7 separate regions of the Homo sapiens genome follow, and regions 1, 2, 3, 4, 5 and 6 are each linked to region 7. Evidence: promoter capture Hi-C in 16 types of primary human blood cells and fetal thymus (Javierre and others, 2016). All regions are on one chromosome and are shown on one strand. Each heading gives the region's core, a stretch centred on a gene start or on the middle of the fragment in contact. The rest is flanking DNA. Distances are from core to core; before and after follow the strand shown. Region 1 overlaps RCL1 (RNA terminal phosphate cyclase like 1). Region 2 overlaps CDC37L1 (cell division cycle 37 like 1, HSP90 cochaperone). Region 3 overlaps RCL1 (RNA terminal phosphate cyclase like 1). Region 4 has its middle 53 kb from the start of JAK2. Region 5 overlaps SPATA6L (spermatogenesis associated 6 like). Region 6 has its middle 8.0 kb from the start of AK3. Region 7 holds the start of RIC1 (RIC1 partner of RAB6A GEF complex).

What was found. The method cuts DNA at HindIII sites, captures the fragments that hold promoters and counts their contacts. A CHiCAGO score of 5 or more calls a contact.
Region 1: a fragment that was not itself captured here is called in contact with the fragment with the promoter of RIC1 in region 7 in 1 of 17 cell types (neutrophils); the score reaches 5.5 in neutrophils.
Region 2: a contact is called between a fragment that was not itself captured here and the fragment with the promoter of RIC1 in region 7, in 4 of 17 cell types (neutrophils, erythroblasts, monocytes and 1 more). The highest score is 14.8, in neutrophils.
Region 3: a fragment that was not itself captured here is called in contact with the fragment with the promoter of RIC1 in region 7 in 1 of 17 cell types (neutrophils); the score reaches 5.8 in neutrophils.
Region 4: a fragment that was not itself captured here is called in contact with the fragment with the promoter of RIC1 in region 7 in 1 of 17 cell types (monocytes); the score reaches 7.1 in monocytes.
Region 5: a fragment that was not itself captured here is called in contact with the fragment with the promoter of RIC1 in region 7 in 5 of 17 cell types (neutrophils, non-activated CD4 T cells, total CD8 T cells and 2 more); the score reaches 9.7 in neutrophils.
Region 6: a fragment that was not itself captured here is called in contact with the fragment with the promoter of RIC1 in region 7 in 14 of 17 cell types (neutrophils, monocytes, fetal thymus and 11 more); the score reaches 24.3 in neutrophils.

Annotation. Positions count from the first base shown.
Region 1 is chr9:4,813,290-4,816,858 of GRCh38, reverse strand. All of the region lies in intron 1 of RCL1 (RNA terminal phosphate cyclase like 1), which reads right to left. Among named protein-coding and RNA genes, the nearest start is that of RCL1, 22 kb to the right of the region's middle. RefSeq lists an enhancer at 1,129-1,278. The HindIII fragment of the contact is 2,784 bases long and covers 910-3,569 here.
Region 2 is chr9:4,681,391-4,684,765 of GRCh38, reverse strand. All of the region lies in intron 1 of CDC37L1 (cell division cycle 37 like 1, HSP90 cochaperone), which reads right to left. Among named protein-coding and RNA genes, the nearest start is that of CDC37L1, 3.5 kb to the right of the region's middle. The HindIII fragment of the contact is 2,745 bases long and covers 221-2,965 here.
Region 3 is chr9:4,839,809-4,843,168 of GRCh38, reverse strand. RCL1 (RNA terminal phosphate cyclase like 1) reads right to left here. Exons shown (of 9, transcript NM_005772.5): 6 at 1,812-1,937. Among named protein-coding and RNA genes, the nearest start is that of MIR101-2, 8.8 kb to the left of the region's middle. RefSeq lists a silencer at 566-860. The HindIII fragment of the contact is 7,127 bases long and covers 1-3,360 here.
Region 4 is chr9:4,930,302-4,933,696 of GRCh38, reverse strand. No RefSeq gene overlaps it. Among named protein-coding and RNA genes, the nearest start is that of JAK2, 53 kb to the left of the region's middle. The HindIII fragment of the contact is 9,721 bases long and covers 1-3,395 here.
Region 5 is chr9:4,662,440-4,665,323 of GRCh38, reverse strand. The region is part of intron 1 of SPATA6L (spermatogenesis associated 6 like); the gene reads left to right. PLPP6 (phospholipid phosphatase 6) reads right to left here. Exons shown (of 1, transcript NM_203453.5): 1 at 66-2,884. The coding sequence ends at 2,061. Among named protein-coding and RNA genes, the nearest start is that of PLPP6, 1.6 kb to the right of the region's middle. RefSeq lists a silencer at 2,636-2,884. The HindIII fragment of the contact is 490 bases long and covers 1,006-1,495 here.
Region 6 is chr9:4,747,604-4,750,809 of GRCh38, reverse strand. No RefSeq gene overlaps it. Among named protein-coding and RNA genes, the nearest start is that of AK3, 8.0 kb to the right of the region's middle. The HindIII fragment of the contact is 4,823 bases long and covers 1-3,206 here.
Region 7 is chr9:5,626,938-5,630,377 of GRCh38, reverse strand. RIC1 (RIC1 partner of RAB6A GEF complex) reads right to left here and starts at 1,271. Exons shown (of 26, transcript NM_020829.4): 1 at 925-1,271. The coding sequence starts at 1,068. INCR1 (interferon stimulated noncoding RNA 1) reads left to right here and starts at 651. Exons shown (of 3, transcript XR_007061406.1): 1 at 651-811. RefSeq lists enhancers at 451-951, 2,862-3,081 and a silencer at 972-1,511. The HindIII fragment of the contact is 4,913 bases long and covers 1-3,289 here.

The sequences.
Region 1 (3,569 bases), core at 1,052-3,551, 810 kb after region 7:
GACGACAGAGCGAGACTCCATCTCAAAAAAATAACAATTATTATTATTATTACCCAAAGCACAAAAAAGAATGTGTAAAGATGGCTATTGTAGTATAGTTAAGAACATCACTAAAAAACATCAGAATTACAAACTAATCTCATTTAATGAGAACAGATGAAAAATCTTAAATAACATCTCAGAAAGTATGTTATTCTTAAATTACACATTTTTAAAATTACTACTGTGATTAAGAAAGATGCATCCCAAAAAGGGCTGCGGATAAAGCACAAGGAAAACAACAACATTAATTAAATATAATATTATATAAGCAGGGGGAAAAATTCAACTAACTGGCTTAATTATTCCAGAAAAACCACCTGATAAAATTTGGTATCTATTTCTCAGTCAAATTCTATTTTAAAAAGAATGGCAAATGAGTTTGCTAAATGTAACACAGAGTTTATATTTTAAAACAGAAGACTTTAAAGTTCACAGAGAATGTATCTTCATGGTAAAAGGATAGGCAAGATTTATAAATTGGATATTAAAACTATGAAGTATTGTTTATCAAAAGACTACACTGAAAGTGTCAAAAGACAAGTCAGAGTGGAATAACATATGTGCAATCCTTTAACATATCCAGAATATACCAATGAATCAACAATTAAATAAGAAAAAGACAGAAAAATGAGCAAAATATCTGAATGGAGACTTCATAAAAGAGGATATCCAACTGACCAATACATCAAAGAAAAGGTGCTCAGATCAAGATGGCCAGCTAGAAATCCTTCACAAAGACGGCCAAAACAACAATTAAACAACTAGACTTTAACACAAATAACTGAGGAAGGGTGCCAGAGTGCATCAGAAGAGTTTATAAAAGAAACTCGAGATGACCACAGAGAGAGCAGAAGGAAATGCCAAGCTTCTATCACCCCAATCCCCAATCAGGATCAGCTGGGAACCAAAAGGACTTCTCCCTGCTGCAAGGAGGTAAGGAAGAGGATCCTAGCGATCCCTATCAATACCTTAGACACTTACAGACCTCACCACTGAGGAACCCTGCAGTCCTCATAGGCCTAAGCTGCCTGGAGTATACATACGTAGCTGTGCTCCCCACAGAGAAGGAGTCAACACCGTGCCCAGCTCCCTGTGGCCTGCGCTACACTATCCTGGAATTAGAACTATGGCTGGAGTGTGTCTTGCTCCAGGAGCAAGCAGCAAAAACTCCCCTTTTCCCGTGAGGATACACCCTAGACCAGTGGCCCAACATCCTCAAGCCGAGCTTTAAGCGGCTACTGTACCTTTCAGCATGGTGCCAAATGAAGATGGAGCCACTCCACCTACCCCTACCCCACCCCACTGGGCCAGATCTGATGCTTCCTGGATAAATTTTAAAATTTGCAGTTGCAAAAAAAAAAAAGAAAAGAAAAATACTGCAGCTTAAGACTTCAATGAATGAAATAAATATAATAGAACTAAAATAGCAGACATGATCAAGCATAAGACACAAATCTCTGAACTTGAAGATAAGTCTTTCAAAATTACCTACTCAAAGAAATAAGAAATGAGAATGAAAATGAAATGAGAACACCTACAAGACTTACAGGAAATCATTAAGCAAACAAATGTTCATGTTATGAAAGTTCCAGGAGGAGAAAAAAGGAAGCACAGAAAGCCTGCCAAATGAAATAGGTGAAAAGCTCCCAAGGCTGATAAGAGGTATGAACATACAGATCTAGGAAGCTCAAAGGTTCCAAAATAGATTCAACCCAAAAGGGTCTTCCCAAGGCATATTAATAGTTAAACTGTCAAAAGTGAAAGATAAAAAGAGAATTCTAAAAACAGCAAGAGAAAAAGGCATCAAGTTAATACAAGGAAATCCCCATTACACTAAAAACAGATTTCTCCAGAGAAACCTTATAGACCATGAGAGAATAAGATGATATATTCAAAATGCTGAAAGAAAAAAAAAACGTCAACCAAAAACACTATACCCAAAAAAGCTATCCTTCAGAAATGAAGTCTTTCCCAGACAAGCAAAAACTGAGGAAATTCATTACTATTAGCCAGGCCTTACAAGAAATGCTCAAGAAGGTCCTACATCTAGAAATGAAAAAATGATAATCACTACCATGAAAAAACATGAAAGTATAAAACTCACTGGTAGAACAAATACACAAAGGACAAAGAGAAAAAAATCAAACCTTATCACTATAGAAAACCATCAAACTGCAATGACAAACAATAAGACGGGAAGAAAAAAAGGAGACACGAATCAACCAGAAAACAATTTTTATAAGGACAGGAGGCTAAGTACTGTGGCTCATGCCTAGAATCCCAACACTTTGGGAAGCCAAGGCAGGAGGATGATCATGCCCAGGAGTTGGCGACCAGCCTGGGCAACAAAGCGAGACCGCCATCTCTACAAAAAATACAAAAGCCGGGCATGGTGGCAAACACCTGTAGGGAGACCAGGCCGGAAAGATTGCTTGAGCCCAGGAGTTCAAGGTTGCAGTAAACTATGCTTGTATCACTGCACTTCAGCGTGGGCAACAAAGTCAGACCCTATCTCTAAAAAAAATTTTTTTAAATTTCAAAACCCCCTCATGATAAAAACTCTTACGTTAGGTATAGAAAGAACACACCTCAACACAATAAAGGCTGTATATGACAAACTCACAGCTAACATACTGAATGGGGGAAATTTTATTTTATTGTATTTTTTTAAATTATACTTTAAGTTCTAGGGTACATGTGCACAACGTGCTGGTTATATATGTATAAGTGTGCCATGCTGGTGTGCTGCACCCATTAACTCGTCATTCCCCCCACCCCATGACAGGCCCCGGTGTGTGAAGTTCCCCACTCTGTGTCCAAGTGTTCTCATTGTTCAATTCCCACCTATGAGTGAGAACATGCAGTGTTTGGTTTTCTGTCCTTGCGACAGTTTGCTCAGAATGATGGTTTCCAGTTTTATCCATGTCCCTACAAAGGACCTGAACTCATCATTTTTTATGGCTGCACAGTATTCCATGGTGTATATGTGCCACATTTTCTTAATCCGGTCTATCACTGATGGACATTTGGGTTGGTTCCAAGTCTTTCCTATTGTGAATAGTGCCGCAATAAACATACGTGTGCGTGTGTCTTTGTAGCAGCATGATTTATAATCCTTTGGGTATATACCCAGTAATGGGATGGCTGGGTCAAATGGTATTTCTAGTTCTAGATCCTTGAGGAATCGCCACACTGTCTTCCACAATGGCTGAACTAGTTTACACTCCCACCAACAGTGTAAAAGTGTTCCTATTTCTTCACATCCTCTTCAGCACCTGTTGTTTCCTGACTTTTTAAGGATCGCCATTCTAACTGGTGTGAGATGGTATCTCACTGTGGTTTTGATTTGCATTTCTCTGATGGCCAGTGATGATGAACATTTTTTCATGTGTCTGTTGGCTGCATAAATATCTTCTTTTGAGAAGTGTCTGTTCATATCCTTTGCCCACTTTTTGATGGGGTTGTTTGATTTTTTTCTTGTAAATTTGTTTAAGTTCTTTGTAGATTCTGGATATTAGCCCTTTGTC
Region 2 (3,375 bases), core at 344-2,843, 950 kb after region 7:
TATCCTGTGTTCTAGGTCTGCAGTCATGTTTTTATATCTTAGTCCTTGTTTCATCAACTAACTTCTAAACTTCTTTGTTAATTTAGGCCTATCCCCTGACAACTAACAGCAACAAAAAGCCTGGCAACTATCACAGTGTCTTGCATAAAGCTAGTGCTTAACAAACGTTTAATTAATAGTCTTCATAATCCTGAACAAGCAGAATAATGAGAACAAAGCTTAAATCTAGTTCATCACCTCAATACTCAACATGCTGACAACCAGGCCTTTATAATTTTGTTCTCCAAATTCTTCACTACAAAAAAACCTCCTTTTATCTAGAAGTAATCGTTTCTTGGTTTCTATTTTCTATCTGTATTTTTCCAATCCTTGGTGATTTGAGAAGTTCTTATTGGATATTTCCATTTATAACTGATTATATCAGACAGATATCCTTTAATTTATTCCTAATCAAAATAGGCAAATTATATATATATATATTTTGTGATGGAGTCTTGCTCTGTCACCAGGCTAGAGTGCAAAGGTGCGATCTCAGTTCACTGCAACCTCTGCCTCTGGGGTTTACGTGATTTTCCTGCCTCAGCCTCCCAAGTACCTGGGACTACAGGCATGTGCCACCATGCCCAGCTAATTTTTGTATTTTTAGTAGAGACAGGGTTTCACCATGTTGGCCAAGATGGTCTTGATCTCTTGACCTCGTGATCTACACACCTTGGCCTCCCAAAGTGCTGGGATTACAGGCATGAGCCACTGCGCCTGGCCACAAAGTTACATTTCTTAAAAGTGACAATGGTCTACCCTGCTGACCGTACTACTCCGAAGCAGTAGTAATTACTTTTATTTACTTAATTACTACATGTAAAGTACTGTGATAGACATTCAATACCCTATATTCCTTGGCTCTATAAAACAAAAGCTGAAGGCACATTCTTTATGAGTTCTTCGTCAAATGTACATCAACTTCAGAATAATTTCTCTCCAATCTGTTCCCATATCTGCATCACTATTCAAGCCCTTATAATTTCACATGTGAATTATACAAATGCAGACTCTTATCCCAAGCCGTTCTCCACTCCACTAGACTGGAGTGATCTTTCCAAAAAATGAATCTGATCTTTTTTTTCATTCTTAGCTTTGGGATAAAGTACATACTCTGTGGCAAAGCCCTTCGTGATGTTATTTCCCATTACCTCTTTAGACTCAGTTCCCATTGCTCTTCTACTTGTTTGCTTATTCTTCCCTTTCCCACCCTTGTCCCTCACTTCAATTTGGCAATCCTCTTTCTTCGAGGTAACTCCTACAGAAACTCCTATCTTCATCCAGATTCTGGCATGCCCTAAACTTTTTCTGACCCAGTGTCTCCCGACCCAAGTTATGCATATTTCTGTTGTGGTGTTTGTCATACAATATCATGCTTATTTGTTTACTGACTGGTGGTGGTAAACAATTCTGAGGCAAGTAGTAACCAAGGACCCTACCTCTTAGCTGAGTCTTCAGGCAAACTCACGTTTGTACTGGGACAAATGTGGACACTTGCTATTCAGATGTTTTATTTACTCATTCAGCAGGTTTGGAGCCAAGGTACTATAAACCATGTCCCTAAGTATATTTTATAATATATATTCATATATTATAAAATATATATAAAATATATTTTATATATAAAAATAAAATATATATATAAAATATATAAAGTATATTTTAAAATATATTTTAAAATATATTTTATATATAAATATAATATATATTTAATATATATATTATATTTTAATATAAAATATTTTAATATAAAATATAATATTTTAAAATAAAATATTTATTTTTACTTTTTGTTATCTTAGAATAGGATCAAGAATAGTTATCTTAGAATAGGATCAAGAATAACTGTAGACTAGCTATGCTTAAAACAGAGCCAGGAAAAGGAGAAAAATTAAGCTATATAACTTATTTTGTAAGAAAAGATGTAAGAACTTTTGTATATAAAACTTCTTTTGGCTGGGCTCAGTGGCTCACGCCTGTAATCCCAGCACTTTGGGAGGCTGAGGCGGGCGGATTACCTGAGGTCAGGAGTTCGAAACCAGCTTGGCCAACATGGCGAAACCCCGTTTCTACTAAAAATATTTTAAAACTTAGCTGGGCATGGCCGGGAGTGGTGGCTTACACCTGTAATCCCAGCACTTCAGGAGGCCGAGGCGGGCGGATCACGAGGAGGAGCTCGAGACCATCCTGGCTAACGTGGTGAAACCTCATCTCTACTAAAAATACAAAAAATTAGCCGGGCATGGTGGCGGGTGCCTGTAGTCCCAGCTACTTGGGAGGCTAAGGCAGGAGAATGGCATGAACCCAGAATGGCAGAGGTTGCAGTGAGCCGAGATTGCACCACTGCACTCCAGCCTGGGTGACACAGCGAGACTCCATCTCAAAAAAAAAAAAAAATTAGCTGGGCACAGTGGTGGGCACCTGTAATCCCAGCTACTCAGGAGGCTGAGGCAGGAGAATCACATGAGCCTGGGAGGCGGAGGCTGTGGTGAGCCAATATCGTGCCATTGCACTCCAGCCTGGGCAACACAGCAAGACACTGCCTCAAAAAAAAAAAAAAAAAAAGAGAAAGGATAATATATCAAGAAAAGTAATATGGTAATATGGATAAATAGAAATTATCTTGCATTTTCAAATTATTTGGGAGCAAATATTCTTTTCTCAAATCGAAAAATTCTAAAAATAATGTATGTCTTATTTCTCCACAAACTACCCAGACAACATTTGGCCATTTGGGCAAACTATCCAACATGTATTCAGATATTAAATAAAATATTAGGTCACATTCTAATCCATGACCATACAGAAGTTTTAGAGGGACATTAAACATGATCTGCCTTTACATTAATTGGATCTAAGAACTACATATCACATACTACATTAAGAAGTCTAGATCCCCCTTATTTGATAAAATTAAGCCAAAGCTTTTTTTAGGATTATAAAATGTTAATCAATTAAACATTTTATTTTTTCCAAATATTCCAATCCAAAAATTTAAGTCTTAAAGCCAGTAAGACCAATAAGTAGGTTTGTAATAAACACATGAACTCAGAATTAATAATCAGTTTGCAAAAAAAATTTTTTTTTTTGAGACAAGAGTTTCGCTCTTGTTGCCCAGGCTGGAATGCAATGGTGTGATCTCGGCTCACTGTAACCTTTGCCTCCAACAATTCTCCTGCCTCAGCCTCCCGAGTAGCTGGGATCACAGGCATGCGCCACCACACCAGGCTGATTTTGTATTTTTGGTAGAGACAGGGTTTCTCCATGTTGGTCAGGCTGGTCTCGAACTCTGGTGGGCAGTGCAGTAGGTGGGAAAATATACTGGACTAGGAGTCA
Region 3 (3,360 bases), core at 212-2,711, 790 kb after region 7:
GAGAAGGAAGAGCACTATTAGTCATCTGTAACTGGAGATTTAAAAAAACCAAACACAAATTTAAATCCCACATTGGTTTTACATGTAATTTTTAAAATGGGGCTTGGAGTTGATGGCCCACAGTCTACATCATGTCCATGTCTTTATCTACGTGTAAGGCTTCTACTCACCATTAGTAAGTATGGACTTGACCACACTCTAGGGTCAGCTGAGTCAGTGGTATAACAAAAAGCCACACTATAAGCTGGTGGCAGGATGGCTGTCAGGCCTGCTCTGCTTCATGCCAGGACACTTTCTGATAAAGCGAGAGGCAAAGCAGAGAAGGGACTATCGAGATGAAGCCATTTAGACAGCTTCTGCTGCTATCTGTCCTCCCCCATCCCTCGGAAATCCCCTTTCTCCAGAAAATAGCTGACACATAATTCCAGACCTGTGGCCAACAAGGGAGAGTAAAGGAAAGAACAGCATCAGGAGCTACCATTTCTGTAGGACTTACCATGTGACAAGCAAGGTATTAATGGCTTATATGTGTGATCTTTACAATAACCCCAAAACATAGGCATCATCACCCTCAATGCATAAATGAGGAAAATACTGTTGTTACTAGAATATAAACCAAAGGTTTAGGAACATCATTGACTTTTCCAAGCCAGAAAGTCCAGCTTTGCCCACAAATCCTTTCCCAACCCCAGCGTTATGACGCCACCAGCTTTGTTGCTTTGGACTATGAGCCTCCACTGTATTTCTAAAACTACCTTCATCTTTCCATTGGGCCTTATAAAGGTCAAAGGTTGTATAAAACACTCACCCCCCTCCTTTACTCTCTTTTCCTCTTTTTGCTGAAATTAAAAGAAACCACAGGTGAAACAGCTGTGAAAAAGGATCAGCTGTGGCATCACTTAAGAAGAAGTTGACTTCTTAACCTACAACAGTTAACCCCAGACTCTAATATTCTTATTTTTAGGAGACACAACCTGCAAAGCCTCAGATGTGAAGTGAAATGATGCCCATTCACACTGAAATGATTCAGTAAAAAACAAAAACAAACAAAACCCACAAACAAGTGAAGCAAATTTGGCAAAATATTTATCGTTAACTATAGGCAGCAGGAGTATATCTCCGTGTTCACTGTACTATTCTTTGATCTTTTCTGTATGTTTAACACTTTCCTATTTTAAGAAAGTGGCTTTAATTGCTTCTCTAACTTCCTAGTTGCTAAATACACAAGCAAAGCCTAAAACAGGTATCTTCATTACATAGAGCATCATTTTTTAAGAACTTATTTTCCTTACTTAGAATTTTTTTCTAATTTTTAAAATTTTTATTTTTTAGCAAAGCAAAGGCTTTCACTAAACCAAATTCACGTCTGCAATAACAACTTTCTCTGGATGTAAATATGTTGTTTCCACTGATGAAGAGAGATGCTGACTTACACTTAGATAACAAAAGATTTTAACCCTATACTGTTATTTACTCAGGGTGGAAGAACCTGTCCACTTTAATTTTTTTGTTGGAACAGAGTGCAGATGGAATTTAAAGCCTAAAGCATTGTGTATTAATAGATAAAGGTTTTAATTCCCCAAGGCTAGGAACCAGACCCTTAGCTTCCAGCTCTAGCCACTGGGATGCTTTCCATGTGACAGGCACTCAAGAAATGCCTGTTGGTGACAACGGCAATAAGGCAGAAAGAAATTAATTCTGAAATTGTTCTTCCTCTGGCTGCGCAACCTCAGAGCTGGCAGTTTTAACTTCAACTAGAACAGGCATGTGAAAAAGCTGCAGAAACAGACTTCAAAAACACAGATACTTACTTCCCAGAGTTGACTCCTTTCATGTGATCTGTGTAAATATAGATATCAGGTATGAACTTGTTGAGGATGCTCCTTGCAGAATCCACAATCCGGTTCGCCATCTGAGGTGACACACGTACAGAGTACCTGCAGCCTGGAGTTAAGGATGTCATTCTGCTTGAATTCCAGGACAGAGAAAAATCAGTTATAAAGCTGGCAAGTATTTGTGGAACTGTAGTAACAAACTGGGACTTCCAAATCTATTGTTTTCCAACTGAATTTACTGAATTAGTACCATAATTAAATTTTTTTCATTATTATAAAAGGTCATGGCAAAAACACCCAAACAATAGAGACAGTGGAAAGTATAAAGCTGGAGGTCCTCAACCCCACCCCCTGACTTCCTACCCACACGCTTCCCCTAGAAATGGTTCAAGTCAATTTTGGAAGGTGTAAAGACACCTGCCTCTCTGCGGGTCATGATCCAGGCTCCCTCTGAAGCACAACACCTAAGAACACTTTCTATTCTCTGTCCATTCCCACTGCTGTAGCCAATGAGTCTCTCTCTTAAGAACCTAAGCCCAGAACAGACACCACACAGGACCTGGGCGATCCCAATCTGACTCCTGGTATGCTGATGGGAGAAGCAGAAAAAGTTCAGTGAAAGAACATGGTTGCTGCTATTTATAAATATATAAAAAGGTTTTTCTCATTTACAGGGCCTATTTTCTACTATTTAAGAATTAATTACTCCACTTGTGGATAACACAGCCTCCTCACACCTGCTACCTTATGGTTAAAATATTGATAATTAGCACTCCTACAATAGGGCACCCCAGAAAAGAAAGGAGGAAGATATTAGTAACTCAAGTGAAAAGATTGGTGCTTGAGGAAATGGAAATTATTGCCTAAAACTAGACTTTATAACAGAAGCTGGCATTCCCCAACCACACATGTCAAAGAAAAAGTAAGTATGTATTGAGCACTTCAATGTGCAATGTATGGTCAAGAGATGGCTATATATTTGGAACTAAAAAAATGGAGAAATAACATGTGACCTTCCCACTACCCTGATACAAACCCCACGTGACAAGTCCAACAGGTAGAACGAGGTATATAATCTGCCCAATCCAGCCCAATGTTCAAGAACTGCTGACAATAACATATTTAATTTTCATCTGAACTGCAGAAACAAAGTGCTCAGAGACGATACATGACCTGATCTGGTATCTAGCTCCCTTTTTTGACCCATCCTGAACTTCATACTAAAAGACCAATCTTCCTCATGCTGGTGACAGTCTCTCGGTGGCTCCTGGTCCTCCCATATCTTGTTGTTAGAGCCCCCAGCCTGCTCAGTTGTGTCCATCTTCAGCTCTGCACCATCAACTCCTTCCACCCATCCAAACTGACCAAATTCCTCAACCTGAGCTGCTTTGCCCCATTCTCCCAGCCCGAGGTCCCAATCTCTCTCCTGAAACCCTCCAGCCGGCACCCAAGTGTTAGCTCCACTTGAACTTACCATACATCTCTCTTCACATATGCACATTTTGTTCTTGCTCTTCAATGAGAC
Region 4 (3,395 bases), core at 855-3,354, 700 kb after region 7:
AAAAAGTACTAAAATTATCTGGGTACTGTGGTATGCGCCTGTAGTCCCAGGTACTTGGGAAGCTGAGGTGGGAGGATGGCTTGAGCCTGGGAGGCAGACGTTGCAGTGAGTCAAGATCGTGCCACTGCACTCAAGCCTGGGCGATGGAAATGAAACCCTGTCTCAAAAAGAGGAAAAAGACATATCAGTTGTGTCTGCCCTTCCCTTCAGCCCTTCCAATTACAACTCTCCTACACATGGCCCCTGGCCAAGGAGACTACGCAGACCATAGTTGATTGGACCAGGTAGAAGGACTGACAGTGATCTGCGTCGTCTGGTATAGAAAGTAGAACTGGACCAACCAGATTTCTGGTATCTCTAAGGAATTTTGGCTAAAATAATGAGTCAGTTAGTTTTGGCAGCTGTAGGAGTTGGAAGAGCCTTGTGCAAACTGAATTTGAAGCAGCACAAGTTGAAACAGAGGAAAGAAAATAATCAAAGAGAGAAAGAATACATCTGCAAGACAGAAAAAGCAAACATGCAAACAGTACCTAGGATCCATTAATGATGGAAAACCAAAGAAAAGCTCCATTCACTCATGAGAGAGGTCTCCAGAGCCTCCCAGAAGACAGAACCACTGTCTGGCTCCTGTCTCCCCAAAGCTCAATTGTTTTGCTTTTTCTCACATGGTTAGGGATATAACCTCCCTTGTATCCTTAAAATACCCTCCTCCTTACTTGCAGTAATTTAAATTAGTCTCCTTGCGAACAAAACTCCAAACAACTATCCTGTACCTGCACCATGGGCTGCTGGATGCCAACCAGGTGAGGCAGTTACTAACCTTGAAGAAATTCGCATGCAACCTCAGCCCTGTGGAAGTTCCGGATACCTAGGTATTAGGAAAGAGGGAAAGTGGCCTGGGGAAAAGAGAGTAATCCATTCATTTGGGACTCTAACTTCTAGGGGATCTCTAATTGGAACCCCTCAGTAAGAGAGACGCAGCACTGCTCTTCTTGTCTCTCCCCTATTCTCATTTCTCCCAATTCCTTGCATGGATGGTAGTGATGCAGCTGGTGCTATGCCCTACCCAGAGCAGAAACTACTGTAGCAACATAACCTAGTTCTTCAGAGAATCTACCATCAATGTGTCACCATGGAAGTGTTTTATTAGTATGGCAATATATGCCCATGTAATGAGAACCTTCATGCATTGCTGCTGGAAATGTAAAATGGTGCAGCCACCATGGAAAACAATTTGATGGTTCCTCAAAAAGTTAAACATAAAATTACCATCTGATTCCACAATTCCACTCCCGGGTACATGCCCAAAGGAACTGAAAGCAGAGAAGCAAACAGATAGTTTTACACCAATGTTCAATGCAGCATTATTCACAATAGCTAAAAGGTAAAAACAATCCAAATGTCCATCGACAGATGACAGATGAAAGGATAAACAAAATGTGTTATACCTATACAATGCAATATTCTTCAGTGGTAAAAAGGAATGAAATTCTGAGGTATGCCACAATGTGGCTTAACCTTGACAACGTTATGCTAAGTGAAAGAAGCCAGACACAAATGTTCACATATTTTATTATTCCATTTATATGGAACATCCAGAATAGGTAAACACATAAAGACAGAAAGCAGACTAATGGTTGTCATAGATTGGGATTGGGGGGAATAGGTAGCAACTACTTAATGAGTGTGGAATTTCTTTTTGGAATGATGGAAAGAATTCTGGAAATAGTCGTGATATTTACACAACATTGTGAATGTAACTAATGCCACTGAATGGTACATTTAAAAATGATTATAATGGTAACTTCTATGTTATATTTGTTTCACCACAATTAAGATATAATTATGTGGCTGGGCGTGGTGGCTCACGCCTGTAATCCCAGTACTTTGGGAGGCCGAAGCAGGTGGATCATGAGGTCAGGAGATTGAGACCATCCTGGCTAACATGGTGAAACCCTGTCTCTACTAAAAATACAAAAAACTAGCCGGGCATGGTGGTGTGCACCTGTAGTCCCAGCTACTCGGGAGGCTGAGGCAGGAGAATGGCATGAACCTGGGAGGCAGAGCTTGCAGTGAGCCAAGATCGCGCCACTGTACTCCAGCCTGGGCAACAGAGCAAGACTCTGTCTCAAAAAAAAAAAAAAAAAAGAGAGATATAATTTTGTATGTGTATTTTACCACTATTGAAAATAATAATAATAATAATAAAACACGACTGTCAGGATGTCTGAGCTCAGGGCTTCTGTAAGCCAAACCTTCCAGCCAGTTCTAAGGCAATGGAAAGTGCTGCACACTAGAATTATCTGAAGAGCTTCAAAAAATCCCAACATGAGGACCACATCTTGAACCCACTCAATCAGAATCTCTGGAGGTGGGCATCAATTTTTTTTTTTTTTTTTTTTTGAGACGGAGTCTCACTCTATCACCTAGGCTGGAGTGCAATGGCATGGTCTTGGCTCACTGCAACCTCCGCCTCCCAGATTCAAGCAATTCTCCTGCCTCAGCCTCCCAAGTAGCTGGGACTATGGGAACATGCCACCACACCTGGCTAATTTTTGTTATTTTAGGTAGAGACAGGGTTTCACCATGTTGGTCAGGCTGGTCTTGAACTCCCGACTTCGTGATCCACCCGCCTCGGCCTCCCAAAGTGCTGGGATTACAGGTGTGAAGCACCACGCCCAGCCAGGCATCAATATTTTAATGTTCCCCAGTTTATCTAATATGCAGTCAAGTTTGAGAACAGTACTCCAAGCCTGTTTGCTTCTCGAACTTTAGCATGCATACAAATAACTTGGGCATCTTGTTAAAACGCAGATTCCGATTGGTAGCTCTGTGGTGGTGTCCAGGCAGTTCTAACAAGCTCCCAGGTGACACTAATGTTGCTGATCTTTGGACTACACCTTGAGTAGTAAAGCCCTAAGCCACTGGCCAGCTATCTATTGTCTTAAAACAGAAAATTCCGTCAGCACTTAAGAAGTGATTCTAAGACTTAACAACCTTTTTTTATTAGGAAGGTCTTCATAGCCAACTACATTTTTATTACCCACATTTCTTCAGCTTCATAAAACATTCATCACGGCCTTCTCCCAAAGTCCCAGATATTATCATCGGCTAGTTGAATTACTGAATATAATCTTACCATCACTTCTGCTTTTGTCTGATTTCACATATTTCTATAGGTCCAAGTATAGATCCAGAAATATCCATTTTGTAAGCTAAAGTTATTTCCATGTCTTGATTTCAGTACATAAAATATAACTATGAACCTTTCAGTGAGACTTTGTGCCAGATAATTCAGGAATAAATCATCCAAGATCTTGACAACTTTGCCGCTGATGTCAAAACCATTCTTTCCCCCAATATCAAACAGTAATAAAGTTGAGAAGTACAAGCAT
Region 5 (2,884 bases), core at 1-2,500, 970 kb after region 7:
CTAAGTGATAAATCTGTCTCCCTCCTCATCAAGGCAAAAATTAAGCAAGTTTTCATCTCACTTCATTCACCATTATTTGTTAATTTTATTTTGATTTTTAAAAGGCATTATTCAGTGTACAATTAACAAAGAAATCAGTTTTCTACTCTACTGTACTTAGGATGCTTCAAAAACATCAGGTGAAATGATCTATGCTTTAAGAGCCAGAAAACTCAGGCCTCAGCAACTAAAACAGAGAATTCCAAAATTGTAATTACAAATCAGATGGTAAGCCTAATTTCATGCCCCTAATATTCAGATTTGTGGACACTGCAAGAGGAAATATCATTTGCTTCCAAATATCTGGCTTGAATATTGCTGCAGTTAAAGGATCTCGCTAAGGTTAAACAACAAACCCAAACCACTTAGAGCTTCACAGTTTAGCTGCTTTAGCAAGTGAAGAGGTAGTCGGTATTCAGGATGCTGTGGGAATGCAAATGATTTGATTTTGAGGCATGGCTGTTCCTTTTTCACTATGCCCCTCACTCTGAACAAGCTCATGCTTTCACTCAATCAAAACCTACTTATCACAGCCGTTCTCCAGGTTCCGAACCTCCGTATGGCAGATCAAAGTCCATAATCATTTCTATTTATAAATGCCAAAATAGTCATTAAGATTATCTGAGGACATCACTTCCATAGGTAATTTAAAGGATTTCTTTTCAGGTAGAGCAGCACTTAAAGCACATACCTTCTCCAGTCTTTCTGGGTCAAAGAATAATGAGCAGAGTCCACCCTGCGTTTGGTGGTCTTTGGTCTTATGATTTGGGGAGGCACCATGGATGAACAGCTTTAAATGTAAAGGTCAATGTAAACAGAAATTTTGGAGTTTTATCTTGTGCCTGGTATAGCAGCAGACTCCCATGATGAATTTCAAGTTAAATACTGTTACCTAAAATGTGCTGTACCTCAGAAAACGGAATTCCATGTGAAAAACTGTAGCATACAGGTATATACGAGAAAGCTTATGTTCTTGCATTGAGAAGACGTTCCTTTTCCCCACTTTATTACCCTGAAAGAGGAGCATTATTCTTTATTCAGTGGAGATGACTGGCAGCAGGGCCCCATCTCCTGTCATACTGGTCACTGGCATAATATGTGGTCAGCCTATTCCCAAACTTTCAGTTCCTCTAACTTTCCCCAGCAACTTAGTTTCTCTGCCCTCTCTCATGCCATGTTACGTTGTAAACAAAAATAAGCATGGGGCCATGTCCCATTCTTCCTCTTCTATGAGCATCTTAGATATGCCTACCTTTTAAGTGATTCCTCTTTAAGCAAGTTGGCTTTTTCTCTGAATGCTAAAAGACAGTAAGGGAGTAGTGGGAAATGCATAAAGATCTTTTGAGGGATGGAGGGAGAGGAGAGAAAGACAAGTATTATAATCTCTTTTCCCACTACCCGATCCACAAATATGGATAGAGATAATAAATTATAGAGATAATAAAGTAAAAAAGCTTACCAAGAAAATCAGGATTAAGAAGAAATCTCCCAACTGTGGCAACAGATCTTCAGGGAATAAACTAGAAAAACCTATGTCTTGGACTTTAAAAATACTGTTTAAAATCTACCTCAGGAAAAGGACTAGGATTAGTACATGACCTGTCTGCATGTATATTTACAGAATGAACATCATGTTTCTTTCTCGAAGTTCAGTTTACAAGTGGTATGTTGATTTAGGGATTATCACAAAACACAAATCTTACTGATACCAACTTTTAACAGCAACAGTATAACCACCTCAGCTTGTTTTCTTTGCAGTTGTCCTGGAAACATAAACAGTTGTTGAATAAATATACAATAGAGGATTTTTTGGGTTTTTTTGCTTTCCCTAATATGGCTGTGTTCAGTAATGGCCAGTGTGTGCTCCAGCCTAGCAGCACATCAAGATCATGGGACACCTGAAATCCCAAAGGAAGCCTGAAATGCCTAAGAGGGACAAGCGGGATGGCTGCTGGTTTAGGTTGACATCATCGAATGTGGAAACCTTCAGACTTCCTGGTGCCATAATCAATGAGATGGTGTCATCGTTGACTCCACAGTAAAAAGAGGACCGGAGCATTATGGGGTGAGAGCCAGCAATAGTCCACGATGCTGTACTGCATGTAGCCCAGAAAAAAGCCAAAAGCTACGTCGGTGACATTGTGCCGCCCCAGCATGACCCTGGATAGGCCCAAGACGAAGGCCCACAGAACCACCAGCACCCTCAGTGGAATGGCCAGCACCAGGTGGTTCAGGATGAACCTCGACATCAGGGCGGCCCTTGTGGCATGGCCCGAGGGGAAGGAGTACTTGTCCACCGAGAGAGTGACAAACATGTCCATCTGGTTGTGGGCCGGGCGGCGCCTGCGGACCAGCCCTTTGATCAAGGCCACCAGCAGCAGGTCCAACAGCAGGGCGAAGAGCAGGTTCATCAGCACCTCGCGCCCGGCCCAGCTGTCGCTCCTGCACAGGCAGTAGAGGGTGCCCAGCAGCCAGGGGATGCCGTGTCCCGAGATCTCCAGCAGCTTCATAAGGGGTCGCACGCTGCCCCACGACGAGCTCTCTCCCGCGCACACCCCCAGCTTCTTGGACAGCCACAGGTCGATGGCCAGCAGGGAGCGCAGGGCGATGCCCAGGAAGGACGGGTTCAAGTCCATGCGGTCCTCCTCGGGCAGCGGAGGCGCGGGCGACTGCGAGGGGCCCGCCGCGGCCAGGGGGAAGGAGCCGCGGCGGTGAACTGGGCTCTCCGATGCACGGAGCCGGGCGCAGGTGGGGTCCACGGCCGTGGCGCGGCTGCTGAGCAGGGACTGGAACTCAAACCTGCTGCCGCCGCCACCGCCGCCATGGGCTGGGCTGCCGGGGCTGC
Region 6 (3,206 bases), core at 686-3,185, 880 kb after region 7:
TCAGCCACCAGAACTGTGAGCCAATATGTTTCTTTTTCATTATAAGTTATCCAGTCTCAATATTTTGTTATAGCAGCACAGAATCCACCAGGGACTCATGTTGGGTCTACATTTAAAATATATGCAAGAAGAGGGCATCCGCAGAGGACAGCTGCCCGGCACAAGTGCCAGTCTGAGTGGAGTGAGGAAGATGTCTCCATGTAGACGGCAGTACAGTGTGGCTCAGGGTTTTGGAGTCTGCACAGAGTGAGTAGAATGCTCATAGCGATAAGCAGCCTGGCCTGTGATGTCAGAGCCCAGAAGTGGTGAGAAGGATGTCTGTGGAGGGGGTGGTCTGGTCCAGCATAGAGTATCAGAGCCCCAGCCAGATAAGAGTGTCCATATATCAGGCTGATGAGTGGTCGGTATGGAATTCTGTAACCCAAGTGGGGTGAGGAGGACATAGAATAAACTAAAATATGTGTCAATATTATTTTCTTATGGTACAGGCTTCCTCATTGTCCGTCTTTCTTAGGGCTTTCTCAGATATTCTTATTTATCTTTCCAAGTGAACGTCCTAATAAAATTGTCTTAGCTCTAAGGCGCCCTCTTCTGTTTCTTTTGCAAAGTGTTAAACAATATGACATTGTAGTATCTGAGTTCCACCTTCTCTGTTCTGTTCCTTGACTTTTGTCTAGACCTTATCTTTCTTTTTTCTCTAATATCCTTGTCTGGATAATTTGAATTCTACTCCCAGAAGTTTCTCCTCAGAGAAAGCATTTCCTATATGCATCCAGTACAATTTGAAATCACTAATTTAGCTGCTGAATAGTTATGGAATTTGGGGCAAAATTATCCTCATTTTTTAAATCTATAAATTGTAAATGAAATGTAATTTATTTCATAAGGGGTTTTTTTTGACAACTAGAAGTAATTTTCTTTTTTCTCTTTTTCCTTTTTTTTTTTTTTTTTTTGAGACAGTCTCATTCTGTCACCCAGGTTGGAGTAGAGTGGCACGATCTCAGCTCACTGCAACCTCCACCTGCCAGGTTCAAGCGATTCTCCTGCCCCAGCCTCCTGAGTAGCTGGGACTACAGGCAGGCGCCACCATGCCTGGCTAATTTTTTGTATTTTTAGTGGAGACAGGGTTTCACCATGCTGGCCAGGCTGGTCTCAAACTCCTGACCTTCTGATCTGCCCACTTCGGCCTCCCAAAGTACTGGGGTTACAGGCGTGAGCCACTGTGCCCAGCCTAGAAATAATTTTCAATCAGTTCTCAGTCCTACCTATCAGCAGAATTTGACTCATTTCATCATATTCTTCTTGAAACACATTCTTCAATTGACTTCCACGACACCATACTCACCCAATTTTCTTCTTAATTGGCCTCTCCCTCTCTTTCAGGTTTTTTCAATGTTTCTTCCATATCTTCCAACCTCAAAATGTTAGACAACCTCAGAACTCAGATTTCAGACCTCTCCTCTCTATCTAAAGTTGCTCCCTAGTGAGCTTGTACCATCTCAAAAATTTAAACATATTGACAACTCTCAAATTTATGTCTCCAGCCTGGACCTCTACCCTGTGGTCAAAATTTATACATCTGCCTCCTTCCTTATTTTCTCTGCCTGGATGTCCAACAGGTATCTCGAAGTTAACTTATTCCAAAACAACTCTAATATTTTCACCCAACCTGTTTCTCTTATAGTCTTCCCAATCTCAGCTAATGACAATTCTATTCTCCCAGTAGCTCAGGAGAAATCTCTTTTTTTCCCTCACTTTAATCCATCGAATCCACCAGGGACTCACGTTGGGTCTACATTTAAACTATATGCAAGAAGAGGGCATCTGCAGAGGAGAGCTGCCCAGCACAAGTGCCAGAGTCTGAGTGGAGTGAGGAAGATTTCTCCATGTAGACGGCAGTACAGTGTGGCTCAGGGTTTTGGAGTCTGCACAGAGTGAGTAGAATGCTCATAGTCATAAGCAGCCTGGCCTGTGATGTCAGAGCCCAGAAGTGGTGAGAAGGATGTCTTTGGAGGGCGTGGTCTGGTCCAGCATAGAGTGTCAGAGCCCCAGCCAGATAACAGCGTCCATATATCGGGCTGATGAATTGTCGGCATGGAATTCTGTAACCCAAGTGGGGTGAGGAGGACATCTGCATGGAGAAAGGGTAGGCAGTGGTGATAGAAGGTTGGGTATACACAGAGTGACTGATCATAAATGTGGATACATGAAGGACATGAGAGTCTGTTAGAGACACTAACTCAAAATCCAGAAGCAATGTGTTACTCTGTGTTAGGTAGATAAGAATAAAAGAAGACTGAATGTAGTGGTTCACACCTGTAATCCCAATATTTTAGAGGCTGAGGTGGGAGGATCCCTGGAGCCCAGGTATTTGAGACCAACCTGGCCAACATAGCAAGATCTTGTCTCTACTAAAAAAAATTAAAAATAAATAAATAAATAAAAATTAGTGGGGAGTGATGGCATGTGCCTGTAGTTCCAGCTACTTGGGAGGCTGAAGCAGTAGGATCAATTGAGCCCAGGAGGTTGAGGCTGCAGTGAGGTATGATCATGCCACTGCTCTCCAGCCTGGGTGACAGAGTAAGACTCTGTCTCTAAAAAATAAAATAAAATAAAATAAAAATTGGTGGCTTCAATATATGAGGAGAAGACAAGACTAGGATTGTAGTGAAGGATGGAAGGGAAAAAATGAAAATAAATCCTAGAATATTAGATCAGAAATGAAGGTATCAATGTAAACTCATGGCTTCAGTAATACATAGATAAACATAGAAATAAATGTAGATGTAAACGTGTGTGTAAATGAATACAAACATATTTACATATTCCTTAGCCCTGTCCTCTGAGAGGGCCTTAAAGCAGCAACACATTAATAGTAATGAGCACACTGAATGCACGGGCCTCAGTTTCTAAATTCCATATTCCACTAAAGGAAACCAGGGATTCTTGGAGAAATGGTTGATCTCAGCCATTTCAATGTGTTGCTGGGTCTAGGAAGTCCAAGATGAACCTGGACCTTCTTATGCCAGAAAGTAAAGAAGTGCACAAAGAGTAATGGGGACATGCCAAAAGGACACAGATGCTAGCTAACACGAAGGAGATTCCATTAGCCAAATCTTAAATGATTTGAACATCAAAATAAATAATAATGACAATGGCTTACAACCAATTTAATAAAATAAGAAACCATATAAATAAATGTAAGA
Region 7 (3,440 bases), core at 22-2,521:
TTCACTCTGACATCGATTGGTACTGCCTTCTTTGGGGAGGAAAAAAAGCATTTTTATACTCTGAACTCTGTCGTTCTCATAGACAAAGTTATAGCAGTGTTTGCAGAGAGTAGGGAGTATCCCATCCACCACTTATTTCTTTCTCATATCTACTCAGTAATTCAATACAAGAAAGAAAAAGATAACCAGGACTTAAAGCAAAAACAGAATTCAGTTCCATGCTCCTCCCAAGCCTTATTATTTCCAGGTGTTATAACTGGGAGTTCCGCGGACAGATTTGAGTTCTACTTCCGCTCCTTTAACCCCCTATTCCGAAGAGTCCAAGAGCAGCAGCAAAGAAAAAGACCAACTCGAAAGTGGGGAAGGGATGTTGGGGTTAAAGAGGGGAGTTAAATAACCAGACCTTTAGTGAAGAATAAAGAATTCAGGCTGTAGTTTGTAGAAATAAGTTATTACAGGCCTGTAAAGTCTGGCGCTGGGTAAAGCCCAAGAGGCTTTCCCTAACTCCAAAACGGCGACCTTTAAAGTAAGGGAGGGTTGGGGCACCACAGCGGCCGGATTTCTAATTGTGGAAAGTTTAAACAAATTTGTCCCTCGGGGAATGGGGGAAGGGAGAGAAGAACAAGTCTGGGCTCGGCCGGGGAGCGTGCGGAGTCTGCACGCCGCGGCCGTCGGTCCAACGCGGGGAGGCTCAGGGATTTTCGGCAGCAGCGACTTCATCCACCCCGGACCGCCGGCTGGAGGACGTGCCTGCAGCCGGCGGGTACCTGCGGCCAATTCGGTGGAACGAGGACGCGGACTGCGAAGGCAGGTGGGTCTGGCACGAAGGGGCAGGAGTCCTAGGCTCTGGGTGGAAGTTGGGGGTGGGACGGCGCCGGGAGGCCGGGGAGGCAGCGGCGAAAGGCGGCGGGCGGCTCTACTTACTCGGCTGTACCAGATGCTGAGGCGGGCCGCGGCCAGCACGGCGAAGAAAGCCCTCTGCGGGTCGGACTGAACGTGGAAAGGCGCCTCGGCCGGGCTCCCCAGAGGGCACAGCAGCCTCTTGGGCCAGCCGCTCAGAAAATACATGGTCCGTGCGGAGCCCCCGGCGCCCCCAGTTGCGTCCGTCACACTCAGCGGCCCCGGGCTGGTCGCCCACCTCCCACACCGCCACCGGCCGAGTCGGCGGCGGCGGCGGCGGCAGCTCGGGGCATCTGCCCGCTGGCCTGGCCGGGCCGGGCCGACGCAAGGCTGCGCGACGAAGGCACCCCCAAGCTGACGGGGCCGAGTGTGGGGGAGGGAAGGGGAGGGAGAGTAGGGACACAGAGAGGGCGGGAGGAGCGCGGAGGCCCGCCCCGACCCCGCCCCTTCCTCAGGCCGCGCGGGCGTCACCACGCCGCGCCGCGTGGGTCGGGCCGGGGAGGGCCCGCGCGCGCGCTCTGGAGACTCCTGCGGTCTCCCTAGCTGTTTCTTGAAGCTCTGCATAAGCCTCGCCCGCGGCCGCCGGGTTGCGTCCGCACTTCTGCGCGCTGGCCCCTCCCTTGCTCCTCTCCCTAGCAGTCTCCAGGGTTTTACCGGGAGGACCTAGGCAACGGCCTGAGACTCCGAGGCAAGTGGGGCGAGTCTAGGGATAACGCAGCAGCAAGGCTACTGGGCCGGTGGAACACGCCCTGGCCTGGCCAAATTGGACCTCCCTTCCGGATTGGCGGGGTCTCGGTGGGGGCGGGCCGGTTGCCGGGGGGAGCTGGAGTCACGTGACGGCCGGCGCGGTTTCCCACTTTGGGCTGCCGGCCGCTGTGGCTGTGGTGGGCGGTAGGGGCTTTTACCGTGTGAGCTCCTTTAATGCCGGGGTCTGCAGTGAGAGCTGGTGATGAAGCTCCTGCCGGTGTGGAGCTTACATCCCTAAGGGAGCGTTTATTTAATCAGTAAATAAACCACTCACCATGAAAGTATTGAGTTCTGTCTCCTGCCTTTCAGGAGTTCTAAATCTATGTCTTTGAAATCCATTTCCATTCGTCTCAGCCTTACCAGCCATAACTTTAGATGAGAGGAGGCTATCTCTTTCGTGCTGCAAAAGGCTTGGACTTAGTTTTAGAACTGGAAGGGACTGGTGATAGCGTAGGTCCATATTTAGCTTTTGGACCCCAGGTATCACCTTAGCTGTAACTTTCAACGGATTGACCCAGTGGTAACGTCTGAATAGAAGGAGGGTTGAGGGGATATGGTGTGGAATGGGGGAAGGAGGAGTCTGAAATAGAAGAAAGATTTGCTTCTCATTGTCTACCTTTTTTAGTACAGTTTGAATTTTTCCATATGTTTGTATTACTTTTTCAATTAAAAAGCCAGGTTTAAAAAATGACCCCACATTAAAAAGTAGCAACGTAGGCGGGGTGCTGGGGCTCACGCCTGTAATCCCAGCATTTTGGGAGGCCGAGGCGGGCAGATCACTTTAGGTAAGCAGTTCGAGACCAGCCTGGCCAACATCGTGAAACCCCCGTCTTACTGAAAATACAAAAATTAGCTGGGCGTGGTGGCAGGTGCCTGTAATCCCAGTTCCTCAGGAGGCTAAGGCAGGAGAATCGCTTGAACCTGGGAGGCGGAAGTTGCAGCAAACCAAGATCCCTCCACTGCACTCCAGCCTGGGCAACAGAGTGAGACTGTCTCAAAAAAAAAAAAAAAAGTAGCAACATAAACAGAAAAAAGGAAACAAAGAAACTTAATTCATATTAGATATAGCATTGTAGCTGGTATTCATAACCAAATATGTAACTTTCTGTAATTTTTCTAAACATTCACTGCATTCCCTGGAAGGTGATGATAGAATCCTGTATTCCTCAAATGGAGGTTGAAACTGCCTCACCACTCACCAGCCTGTTGCGATCAGATTGTCTCCTTGGCGTCTACCCTCCCCCAGTCCAACACAGCAGCCTGGAACATAGTAAGCATAGTAAGCTGGCAGTATTTGTCAGACAAACCGTGGAGGAAACCCTGATCCAGCTGAGCTACACCATTAGACAAAGAGGCCCAGAGAGGTTTCTTAACTTGCCAATTTCAAATTGTAGAATAACAAAGTTGCATCATACTTTCATCTTAGATTCAGTTATGCACTTGGCAGAAAGAGGAAATGAAAATGTTCTAGTGCAGCAATTTTGCTGGCAGTGTTACTGAATGTTTGTCCCAGCTGTCTCTCAGAGAGTCTTTGTTCTCATGTGTCTCAAGTTTGTCATACTGTGCTCATGGGCAATTTAAGGAACTTCTAAGCAATTTTTATTGCACTCAATTTTAACCTTACTTGCTGACTTTAGAAGCTTATTCCTCTGCCACACTCCTGTGTAGCACTTAAGATTCACAAAATAATTCCAAATGCTTGTCTTGATTTAATTCATAGTAAACATTCAAGGTGAGTGACATTGGTGTGATGTTGTTATTCTCACTTTCTCAAGTGAGGAAACAGGACAGGT